Regions from separate parts of the Homo sapiens genome. Here region 2 is linked to region 1. The links are contacts of gene promoters, found by promoter capture Hi-C in human tissues and cell types (Jung and others, 2019). All regions are on one chromosome and are shown on one strand. Each heading gives the region's core, a stretch centred on a gene start or on the middle of the fragment in contact. The rest is flanking DNA. Distances are from core to core; before and after follow the strand shown. Region 1 holds the start of PYGO1 (pygopus family PHD finger 1). Region 2 overlaps NEDD4 (NEDD4 E3 ubiquitin protein ligase).

Region 1 (5,975 bases), core at 982-3,481:
GGGTCTTGCTTGCTCTGTTAACCAGGATGAAGTGTAGTGGTGTAATCATCGCTCACTGCAACCTTGAACTCCTGGGCTTAAGGGATCTTCTTGCCTCAGTTTCCTGAGTAGTTGGGACTATAGGCCGGTGCCACCACGCCTGGCTAATTTTTAAAAATTATTTTGTAGAGAAGGGTCTAGCTTTGTTACCCAGGCTGGTCTCAAATTCCTGGGCTAAAGTGATCCTCCCGCCTCAACCTCCCAAAGTGTTGGGATTTACAGGCGTGAGCCACCACAGCTGGCCTTCATTTCTTTGTTGACTTACCAAAGTGCTTTCAAATTTTCCTCCAACCACCCTATAACATAGATTATTAGATTCAATCTGCTTTATTTTTAATTTTTTTTTTTTTTTTTTTTTGAGACAGAGTCTCACTCTGTCACCCAGACTGGAGTGCAGTGGCGCGATCTCGGCTCACTGCAAGCTCCGCCTCTCGGGTTCACGCCATTCTCCTGCCTCAGCCTCCCGAGTAGCTGGGACTGCAGGCGCCCGCCACCACACCCGGCTAATTTTTTTTTTGTATTTTTAGTAGAGACGGGGTTTCACCGTGTTAGCCAGGATGGTCTTGATCTCCTGACTTCATGATCCGCCTGCCTCGGCCTCCCAAAGTGCCGGGATTACAGGCGTGAGCCACCGCGCCCGGCCCCCAATCTGCTTTATTATATTACCATTTGCTTCGGCTTTATTACACTTACCAAAGCCCTGCCACCCCAGTCGTCCCAGGGCCACTTCAAATCTCTTTATTCATACATCAATGAATATTTTCCCGAACACTTACTATGTGTTACTCAGTATTAGGTACCAGAGGATACAGCAGTGAGCCAGTCAAAATTCCTGCCTGCATGGCGCTTACATTCTAGTTAGGAGGAACCTTCTCCTCAGAGTGCTTCCTGTAAGAATATTTTCCTTAGCCTGTCCTAGTCTGACTCTTCTAATCAGGAATTCCATAATTCCAGACCACCCTTATTAGATAAAGGGTAACATTTGCCTCCGGCCACGCTATGTCTTAACGACGATCAGCCGCTGTGGCGATTGTCTGGTATGCAGCTGTTGAGGCTGTACATTGGCTTCATGTTAACATCTGTTCTCTGTGACACTGTGCAGCTGAATGAGTTGGGTGTCTGTCTCCGGAAGGACGAGACTCCTGTCTGTAGCTAGTTCTGTGTCCTCCCACGCTTCATGAGTGCTTTTCGGTGATTCTTACATCAAAATAAGCCCAGTGGATAACCAGAAAACCTAGCAAAACAAAAACAAAAACAAAAAACAAAAAACAAAAACCAGGGAAAACAATTTCGTAGAAGTGCGTTAAACAATGTCGGAGCTAGAAGAGACCTTCGAGATGTAGCCCCACTGCCTTTTATAGACAAGAAAACTGAGACCCAGAGAGGTTACCTAAGTCGCCTCCGGTCACACAGCCCAACTGAAGAATGTGGACCGGTGATCACATCTAATTTACAATCACACTGGGGGTGTTCCTCCTAAAATTTAACGTCTAAATGAGATCCAGCCGCGTCACCGCTTCTACCCACGCTCCCCCCTCCCCCGCCCACCGTCCTTTCTGGTATTTATTCTACGTCGCTCTTTCTTGAAGAGTCAAGTCGTTAAAATACCAAGTGGAGGCATTCTACAGACAGGTGTCCACACCACGGCCACGCGGACACGGAGTCGGGGAATCTGGATCCCCACATGCCCGCCGAGAACTCTCCAGCTCCCGCTTACAAAGTTTCCTCGCATGGTACGTTCATCTTTCCGATCCCTAGCTGCGAGGCCGAGACGCCTGCTGCTGTGGCCTCCGACGAAGTTCGGAGATGCCCTTTCCTTGCGAAAGCTGGGCCCGGTAGCGTCGGCCGCGGGGTCGGGCGTTCTCGGGCCTGGCGGTCGGCGAGGGAGCGCCGGGCGCGGGGCGGGGCGGCCCCTAGGCGCGCGCTGCCCACCCGGGCTGCAAGAGCCGCGGGCCCGCGAGCCCCGGCTTGGAGCAAGAGGCGCGCGCGGGCCGTGGGGGCTGGGCCGAGGCGGAGCGCGAGGCGGCGGCGGTGGCGGGAGGCGCCGCGGGACGAGGCAGCGGCCCCCGCCCCCCGAAGCCCGTCCCCGCGCGGGGCTGGGGAGCTCAGGGCGGGGAAGCCGCGGGGCCGCGCCACGTCCCTCGCCCGCCCCAGAGCGGGTTTTACAGGCGGCTCCAGTCTGGGGGCTTTTGTGTCTGCGACTCGGGAGCGGCGAGAGAGCAGACCTCCTCCTCAGAGGGCGCTGTGAGTGTGCCGCCAGGGCCGGGCCGCGAGCCTCCTGCTTCCCCTGTCAGCGGCTCCTGAGGCGGCGGCGAAGAAGAAGGAGTGGGAGGAGGCGGCGGCGGCGGCGGCGCACTCGCCCTCAGCACATGCCGGCCCCGGGTGGGGGGCCGCCCCCAGGCCGCGCTCCCGGCCACCGCCGCTGAGCCCCGCCGGTGCCCGCACGCCGCCCCGCCGCCCCGCCGCCCCGAGGCCTCGTCCTCCTCCCAAACTTTGCAAAGTCGGCCCGCGTCCCCACCGCCCTCGGCCGTGCCTCGGCTCCGAGGCTTGCCTCGCAGCCGCAGCGGCCCCGCGAGGAGGAGGAGCCGCCGCCGCAGCATCAAAGAGACCGAATTCCCGCGGCCTGGGGGGGAGTCATGCTTTGCGGTCTGTAATGTCAGCAGAACAGGAGAAGGATCCCATTTCGCTGAAGAGAGTTCGAGGTAACCGAGAAGGGTGCCGGATTGGGGGAACCGGGGTGAGTGAGGTGCGCGGGGCCCCGTGCCCGGCCGCCGGGAGGCCATGGGGCTCTGTCCGGGCCTAAGTCCGCGCAGCCCGCGTCCCGCCGGCACCCCGGGGCCGAGGCTGCGATCCGAGCGCGCGGCCCGGGCGCCCGCTGGCCCCCGAGACATCCGCGCGGATCCCTCGCCTCCCGACTTTGTGTTCGGAGGCAGTTGGAGCCGCAAGCAGCATCCTTTCTTACCCCCTCCTCACCCACCTCTCCTCGTTCTCAAGACAGCACAATAGGCACCTCAAAGGGTGAAAAACAGACACCCCCTGGCAGAGACCTCGAACGGTGCCCACCCCCTCAAAAAAAGTAAGTTGGAGTACACAAGAGTTGATGCTGTTGAAGAAGGGCTCCTGGGCTTTCACGTCTCTCCTGGCCCCCTTCTCGCCCCCCCACCCCGGCAAAGGCAACAAATATTCAGTTTATTTTCCGTAGGTTTAAGAGGAGAAGCTACAAATTCAGAAGGCATTTTCTCTGTTGGTTTATGGATAAGATATTATCTAAAATCAGTGTTATGCATGGTTGATTTTCTTCTTTCTTGCGCACTGGTTAGGAATTTTCCTTTCGTGTTACTATCATCTAAGAAAAATCAGAGGGAACCATGTGTCAAACAAAAGATACTGCATATAAGTTCACAAAAGTCAAATGCCACCCGGAAATTGGGGGATGCCTTTTAGCTCTTAATAAGGTTAAGACTGAAAGTTCTAGAGTTGGAGTAGTACTCACTGTTCATTAAGCAAATATTTATTGAACATCTACTATGTGCTAGACACTGTTCTTGTTACTGGGATACAGCAGTGAACAAAGCAGATAGACAATCTTCATCCAGTAGGAGTTCACCCTCTTGTGGGATAAACAAATGATAAACAGTAGATACAGAATGTCAAATCGTAGGTGGTATGGTGGACAACAAAACAGGAATAGAGGAGAGGAAATATGTGTGGGGATGGGAAGTATGGATTGTATGTAAGGTGATCATGAAAGGGCTCACCTGGTAGATAATGTTTGAGCAAAGACCTAAAGGAAATGATAGAGCCAGGGCCATATGAATTCACGTGGGAAGAGCAGTCTCTGAAAAGCAACAGCAAATGCAAAGCCCCTGTGTCTGGAATATGCCCAGTGTGTGCAATCAACAGCAAAGAAGCTATTGTAACTGCAGCAAAGTGAGCAAGGAAAGAGTCCTGTGACAGGGGCTAAGGAGTAGGATCAAGAATTATTTGATTCTTGAAAAGTGAGCAAAGGTGATAGATATCATTAAGAGTACATTTTTAAATTATAGCATTTTAATAGTAAAATTACAGTCGTTCAGTAGTCTTAATGCTGCCGGCTATAGGATGATTGTGTATTAGAGGGCCTGGTGTGCCATTTAAAAGACTTTGGCTTTTACTCTGAGAAAAGGTCTGCAGAGTTTTGAGCATAAGAGTGAGTGATCTGACATTTTAAACAGGGCATCTTAAGCTGCTGTGCGGAGAATAGACTGTAGAGAAAAGGCTGAAGCAGGGGAGACTAGTAGGGAGGTGATTGCAATAGTCATCCAAACAGGGTAAACAGGGTAAAATGCTTTATAAATCAGTAAGTAGGAAGGTAAATTTCCGGCTGACTTAAGTGATGTAGAGATGAAGGACCACAGTCATTCATTTTTGTTTTTGTTCAATGTGACTAGAAATTAAACATGTATAGAACTAGCTTGTGACACACAATCCAAAAGACATCCACTCAAGAGTATTTTGGTAGAAAATGATTTTCTTAGCCATTTAAGAGAAAACATAATTTAGAGAATATTGTTTTTAAAGGCTTAATATCAGCACAACCTTTAATTTGGTGAAATATTTTAATTGTCTTTTTCTGTTTGTGGTTGTGAGTTGCCAAAGCCTTTAAGGAATAGACCTTCCTGAGATACAATTATTCCCCTGATATTTGTGCTGTATAATTTTGCCTACTATTATAAATTGTTTTGGGGTTAAAGGAAAAGAAAGAGCTATCAAGTTTATACCTTTGAACTGAATTATCAGTCCTAATCAAATTTAATTCTAAATAAAATGGATGAGTGTTTTATTGTGGGTCAAGAACACAGATATATCTTCATTTTGTTCCAACTGCTGTTAAGTTCTATGGCGTAGCTATTGGGGTTGGCTCCGGTGTCAGCTCAAGAATATTCTGAGAGTTAAGTACCAGAATAAAAGACAAAACACTTTTTAAAATAAAAAGTCAGTATTTTTATGTTATGGGGAGAATTTTCTTAATGTCATTTTGTAATAATTAGAACATTCATTAAAAAATTTTTTGGAATATTTTATGATTAGCTCTTCTGAAGCACCATTCTGCTGAACTTCATTGCCCTGGAGCTTTTTGTTATTTAATGTAATTTATATCATCAGACTGCATGCAGGATGTGGTGTTTGCAGGGCATAAACTCTGGAGCAGTGCTTTTCAAACTGTTTCCCATCTGCTGATGTGATAGAGACAGACCTTTTTAATGGTTGTGTATTTATTTTATATGTATTAAAAGAGTCACCAAATACCTTGCTTAGGATAAGGCTAAGATACATATGTGTATAAATACACACATATAGCAATTTAAATGAATTATTAACACACATATAGCAATTACATGAATTATTAAGAAAGTAATATTATAGGTAGAACTCAGATATGGCAAAACTAAAACATGAATGACTGAGGACTTTACAGTAGCATGCTCTGCAGACCAAAAGCATCATAATCACTTGTGATGCTTATTAAAATATAGATTCGTGGATCTACGGAATCAGGACTTCTGGGATCCACAGAGTTGGGACTTCTGCATCTTTAACAAGATCCCCAGGTGCTCCTTATGCATACTGAAGTTTGAGAAATGCCACTAATAGACCTAGATTATAAAGGTGTGAGTAGACCAGAAGCAGCTGGCTGTGGTCTTCCAAACTGTCCTTATATTTTAACAATAGATTTAGAATTACTCTTTAGTGACACAGTATCTTACTCCTATTTTCTACCAGTTCTTAACACTCCACCCCCAAACCTTCACCTTTTGATTATAAGACAGATCTATGAGGACAGGTACTATGTCTTGATTATCTTATTTGCCTTGCCCATAGTAAATGTCAAATGAATGAATGAGTGAATACATGAATTATGCTGCTTTCTGATAGTCCATTTCCCCTCATACTAC
Region 2 (6,348 bases), core at 512-3,011, 280 kb before region 1:
CAGAAAAACCTAACTATATTTTGCATACTTAGTATTTCAGAAGACTCAAATATTTAGAGAAAATAACATAAGACTGGAATTTAAAACCCAAATAGCATGCTTATAATTCCATTTTCCCAAACAAAGTTACTTGATGTTTATCAAAAAAATTTAAATTTAAGCTGTAACTAAAACTCCTTTTGATCTTCTATACCTCATTGACAAGTAAAATCTAGTGAAAACGTGTGTGGATTTACTGTCAAAAAGGTCAAACTAAAGCAGAGAAAGGACATCTGTGAAAGCAACAGTATTTGTCTTGTTTCTTAAACTATAAAATGCATTTGAAAATGTACTTTTGGAACTTAGTAAAATTTTTCACTTAAAAATGATTTTTTAAATTACTGTTTGTAATGTAAATATTAAAAAAATGAAAAGGAGTGCTCACTGACTGTTAATATTTACTCTCTATAAAGGAAGTCACATTTAATTTCTGTAGATGTCTGGAATGTAAATCTCTTTTAGTCTTTTAATTTTAGACTGATTGTGACATCTGCATATCAAGAATAACTAAATTGTTTTTTCTTATTTGATTGTCCTAGCAGCCTGCTTTTCAATTTGTCACATGCTTTCTAGCGTCTTTATCTTTAAAAAATACAATTTGTTTCTTCTGTCTGCAATGAATATTATTGCAAGTGTAGAAAGAACTTTATTCAGATAGAAAATGTACTACATTCCTAAATTTGTGTGAGCCCCATTAAGTCAAAACCTTGAGGCTTCTTTTCCAATTGAAAAGACATGAAACATACAATTGTAGAGAAACTTTTCAACAAAACATTGTCTGAGCACATTTTCTGTATCCATCTTTTATAGCCACAAGTCAGAATGTTCACATCTCCTTCAGTATGGAGACACAAGCCACATTAGCGGCCTTGGGAATAAGCATCAGGATTTCACTGACTACTCATGAAAGGATACACTAAATTTGCCAAATCCATGAGAACCATACAGAGAAGAGCTAAAAAGATTAGGGGAGGCTTGGGAGTGGGGGTAGGTAATCTCTTGAAGACAGAATAAAAGGATTAGGACTCTTGTCTAGAAAGACAAAGGGTAATTGCTACATATCTGATATCTGTAAAAAATCATCCCCAAAAAATCTATATAGAGAGCTGAGACAAGTAAGGATTTCTTAAGTAAATCATAGGATACTAGAATTGATGAGGACAATAGAATTAAGCCTTAAATTAGAACCTTATGAAAGCATTGTAATTGTAGCACTTTGGGAGGCTTAGGTGGGTGGATTGCTTGAGCCCAGGAATTCCAGACCAGCCTGGGCAACATGGCAAAACCCTGTCTCTACAAAAAAATACAAAAATTAACCGGGCATGGCAGTGTGTGCCTGTAGTCCCAGTTATTTAGGAGGCTAAGGTGTGAAGATCACCTGAGCCTGGGAGGTCAAGGCTGCAGTGAACCGTAATTGAGCCACTGTGCTTCATCCTGGGCGACAGAGGGAGATGCTGTCTCAAAACAAAAAAAAAAAAAAAAAGAAGAAGAAGAAGAAGAAAAAAAAAGCAGCAGCAGCTTATGAAAGACAGGTTTTCAAAAGATTTAAAATATTACTACAGCAGGCAGCAGCCTTTAGCTTAGACAACTGATTATTCAAAAAGGTGATACAATATAAAAATAGATTAGGTAAATTAATGTGTGACAGATTCAAACAGCTGCCAAAGAGATGTAGCAGGTTTCAGACACTGATCAGGCCTTGCCCTCTACTCTTCTGTCATCCAAAAAAATATGGCCAGATTAGCATCCCTAAAGCACATCTCTGAGGATACCTTTCTCTATCCCCCAAATTCTCAGTGATTTACCAAAATATGCAAAATAAAGTCTGAAGTTGTCTGATTTTGCATGACCTCTGGACCATCCCAATCTCCTGTAGTCCCCTTTACATGTCCTATAATCTAGCCAAACTCAACTACTGCAATTTCCTTAATTGCACCCCAAATTTCCCATCTGTTTCCTGGATCTTGCCCTCTTCTTTACTCATATGCCTTTTCCTCTACTGCCACAGGTAAGAATCCTCCCCAGTCTTCTAACCCCAACTCAAAGGCCAGCTTCTCTTTGACATTGTCTCTGATCGTTCACTTAAACTTCCTTAGCATCTTCTTTGTGTCATAACAATTATTTATTTATTTATTTATTTATTTATTTATATATGTTTGCCTTTTCTCTACCTTCTATTCCTTTCCCTAGATATCTTCTGCCCTGGAACTTGTCTTTGAACCTCCCTTTGTAGACCCCCTGGTACCTAGTGGGTGTTCATTAAACTCTTATTAATTGAATACTTTTCTCCCGGTGTTAAAGTTTTATGAATATTTATTTTCTTTTCTACAGTCACAAATCAAGAGTTAAAGGTTATCTGAGACTAAAAATGACTTATTTACCTAAAACCAGTGGCTCAGAAGATGATAATGCAGAACAGGCTGAGGAATTAGAGGTGAGATTTTATAAATATTTGGTTAAACTAAAAAAATTTTAATTTCTTATTTTACTGTACTCTGAAGAACAATAACTATTGAATGAAGTTAACATGTGCAATGAAGATTATTTACTTGGATGTTTATTTCACCCAAGCATTAATAGTTTTCCCTCTAAGGATATTTCCGTAGAAGGAATGGCCATTATTGATGGCCTTCTTAAAGGTTAAGGAGTAGAGAATAGAATATAAATCTAGTTTTTCAAAGTTTTCTAAAACTGTATATTCTCCATTAAAGTAAGAACACAATTTAGTATTTTGAAGTTAAATATATGGACATTTTGAGGAGACTCCACTGATTAGGAACTCTTTTATGAAATTTAAGTCCTGTTAATATTCTTATTATGGTGGGAGGGCTCATAGGAAAGGAGGGGAATTAGGGAGCAAGGAAAATTTAAGTGATCTAATAAAGAGCCTTCTGTATGTGGGGCAAGTAGAATTTAACAATTTTCATGGATGACAGGATGAGAGGAAAGTCCAAGTCAAGATTTGTGTAGAGTTACATGCATCTGGAGTAAGCAAGTAGGAGGCAGAAAGTATGTATTTGGAATAGAATTGGATAGGGTTTGGAGACTGGAATCCTAGTTGCACACTCTGTCTAGCCAGACCTGTGTGAGTCATTGAACTTTTCCGAACCTCAGGATCTTGTTTGCAGAGTGACAGGATGGCATCAGATGACCTCGAGGGTTTCTTCCAGCAAAAAAATTTATGATTTGGAAAGGGGTCAAAAAAACACCTGCTCGTTGAGGTTCCCTTTGAAAGCACATTATCATCAAAAAGAAGTATCATTTATTCAGTAGCTGTGTTAGTCCATTTTCATACTGCTGTGAAGAAATATCAGAGACTGGGTAATTTATAAAGCTTTAAAAACAGGTTTAATGGACTCAGTTCCACATGGCTGGGGAGGTCTCACAATCATGGTGGAAGGTGAAAGAGGAGCAAAGGCACAGCTTATATGGTGGCAGGCAAGAGAGTGTGTGCCAGGGAACTGCCCTTTATAAAACTATCAGATCTCATGAGACTTATTCACTATCATGAGAACAGCACCGGAAAAACTCACTCTCATGATTCAGTTACCTCTCACTGAGTGCCTACCACGACACGAGGGGATTATAGAAGCTACAATTCAAGATGAGATTTGAGTGGGGACACAGCCAAACCATATTAACAGCAGTTACTGAAAGCAAAGCACACAGCGTATGGCACCAAATTGCTCTGGAGGGTTCTTATTTGTTGCCTTGCTTAACACTTTCTCCTCTGACTGAGGGCCTGCTTAGGTCTCCATAAGAACAGTGAAGCTGAGGGCCTTCCCCAGGGGCTAGGCTCTACCTCACATGCCCATGTACCTTGAGAAAGAAAAGCTCTAGAACAGGTAGTGAATTTGCAGCAGAGCTTTCTGGGAAAATTTTAAATGCACTAATGAGATTTTGCTTTGCAGGAGAATCTATAATAATAGAAGGAAAGACCTTTTTTTTTTTTTTTTGGAGTCAGAGTCTTGCTCTGTGGCCCATGCTGGAGTGCAGTGGTGCAATCTCAGCTCGCTGCAGCCTCTGCCTCCTGGGTTCAAGTAATTCTCATGCCTCAGCCTCCCAAGTAGCTGAGATTACAGGCATGTGCTACCATGCCTGGCTAATTTTTGTATTTTTAGTAGAGACAGAGTTTTACTATGTTGGCCAGGCTGGTCTTGAACTCCTGGCCTCAAGCCGTCCATCCGCCTCGGCTTCCCAAAGTGCTGGGACTACAGGCGTGAGCCACGGCACCCAGCCAGGAAAGAACCTTTTTTCTTCAAATCACAGAGTATAGATAGCCCCTGGTTTGGTGATCAAAGAACTCTCTTCACTTATTTGATTAACTTTTTGTTAGGTATTTTTCTCTGATTTTCGTATAATTGTTTTTAAAGTTTTCAAGTATTCATTCAGTAGAAGTTTCTCTACCTGGCTTTTTGGTGTACCAGAGTATCTCGAATAATGGAATTCTGTTTGAAATGAAGGATATCTGCTGTAAAGAAAGAAAATTATTTATTTAGTAACTTGAAAAAATTTAACAGCATTTCATTATTTAGTAACCTGCTCCAAGTTTTGCCCACATGCACGCATCATAGGACCCTATTCACAGTTGAGTTTCTGTGGAGAGAACTGCTTCACTTCATTTTGCGGTCTCATGTCTCAGTGTTTGAATTCCCTCAGAATGCACCTTATAATTTCAGGAGATGTAAGCTTGTAGGAGTTTATTTATGAAAGGCCCTAGGAATTCAAACACATGAATCTGTGCTTATTTACCTTCTGTGTAGCTAATGACTAGAGGAGTCTTGCCTAGTCCTTTGACAGCTAGTTTGTGACTGTATATATAAAATTCTACTATTTAAGGAAAACAATTGTAATTTTGAAATGAAGCTCACTCTTAGGTAGTTTGTATTCTGTAGTAAAGTATGGCTATAATAGATAATTATGTAACATTTGATTTTTGTACCATTTGCAACTTTAGGGTTAGTTGTATGTATTTTACAAAATTAACATAAAATGTTGGTTGTACCTCTGAATGCTTTCTTTCTGACCCTCTTTGACTTGATTAAATTGTGAGCAATTACATATTGGCTTTGCGGTTAGAAATTAAATAAGGTTCATTGATACTTAGAAAGTTATTTTATAAAGAATAGCAGCTGATACATATTTAATAGGAAGGCCTTCTATCCAAAAAATTGACTGTATAGAGGCATTGTATCCAGTCTTTCTAAGCCGTGTTTGATTGTACAACTCTACTTCCACAAATTTGAGACAGGTCTTTTTTAAGCCCTTAATTAAATTAATTTTTGTTCTTTCTCTTCCTGAATTTACTCAGATAATATAAATACATTAAGCAGACATTTAAGAGAGAAATCTCTAAGAAGCTTTAAAAGAAATATTCTTTTGCTACCATTTTTCTAGCACTATTTTTATAATCCTTTACAGCAGTAGTGAGAACTATTTTATTAATAAATTGTATTAATCTTAAAGGAAAAGTAATCAATGGTTATATTCAACCAAAAAATGTTAAATTTATATTTTCTCAAAAGAGTAAAATATAAAAACTTAACGTGTTTTGGGATTGAAACCAGAAACATACAGTCTGATTCAATATATGCAAGACTAAATTTTAGGTATGCTAGATCCTGTATTATCATAATTTAAGAGAAAGGAAAAGAAAGAAAGAAGGAAGATCAACATGGATGGGCAGACAAAGTAAGAGGATATAAGGAAAGAAGAGAATGAAATTTGGGCAATAAAAAGAAAAAATAGAGAGAACAATTCTTATAAAAGAGGTAAAAATTTAAAAAAAAAAAGAAGAAAGGTTGGGCACAGTGGCTCACGCTGGTAATCCCAGCACTTTGGGAGACCAAGGCAGGAGGATTGCTTGAGCCCAGGAGTTTGAGACCAGCCTGGGCAACATAACGAGACCCCATCTCTACAAAAAAATTAAAAATTAGCTTGGGATGGTAGTACACACCTAAAGCCTGAGGTGGAAGATTGCTTGAGCTCAAGAGGTCAAGGCTGCAGTGAGCTGTGATGGCACCACTGCACTCCAACCTGGGTGTCAGAATGAGACCCTGTTGAGAGAGAGAAGAAAGAGAGAAATTCCCCTCCAGACCTTTTCTCCCAAAATAATTTATTCTGTCATCTTCCTACTCCACTACTCGTCACCTTCTATACAGAGCTAGCCAAACTAGATCAGCCTTGCTGCAGAAACCCCTATCCATTTCTCCCTGCTACCAAAAAACATTCCTTTCCTTCCCAACTCTTTTCCCTGAGGCCTCGTTTTCAGGTCTAGCCTTCCAACGTGGAAGAATTCTCTTCCATCTT

The links. The method cuts DNA at HindIII sites, captures the fragments that hold promoters and counts their contacts. A contact is called where the count stands out against the background at its distance.
Region 2: a fragment that was not itself captured here is called in contact with the fragment with the promoter of PYGO1 in region 1 in 1 of the 25 tissues and cell types used here (mesendoderm cells).

What each region holds. Positions count from the first base shown.
Region 1 is chr15:55,584,601-55,590,575 of GRCh38, reverse strand. It overlaps PYGO1 (pygopus family PHD finger 1), which reads left to right and starts at 2,231. Exons shown (of 3, transcript NM_001367806.1): 1 at 2,231-2,741. The coding sequence starts at 2,693. LOC124903497 (a long non-coding RNA gene) reads right to left here and starts at 2,026. Exons shown (of 2, transcript XR_007064647.1): 1 at 1,757-2,026; 2 at 1-1,273. RefSeq lists silencers at 2,210-2,329, 2,410-2,459. The HindIII fragment of the contact is 20,429 bases long and covers 1-5,975 here.
Region 2 is chr15:55,865,704-55,872,051 of GRCh38, reverse strand. NEDD4 (NEDD4 E3 ubiquitin protein ligase) reads left to right here. Exons shown (of 29, transcript NM_006154.4): 8 at 2,371-2,473. Among named protein-coding and RNA genes, the nearest start is that of NEDD4, 120 kb to the left of the region's middle. The HindIII fragment of the contact is 4,581 bases long and covers 1-4,051 here.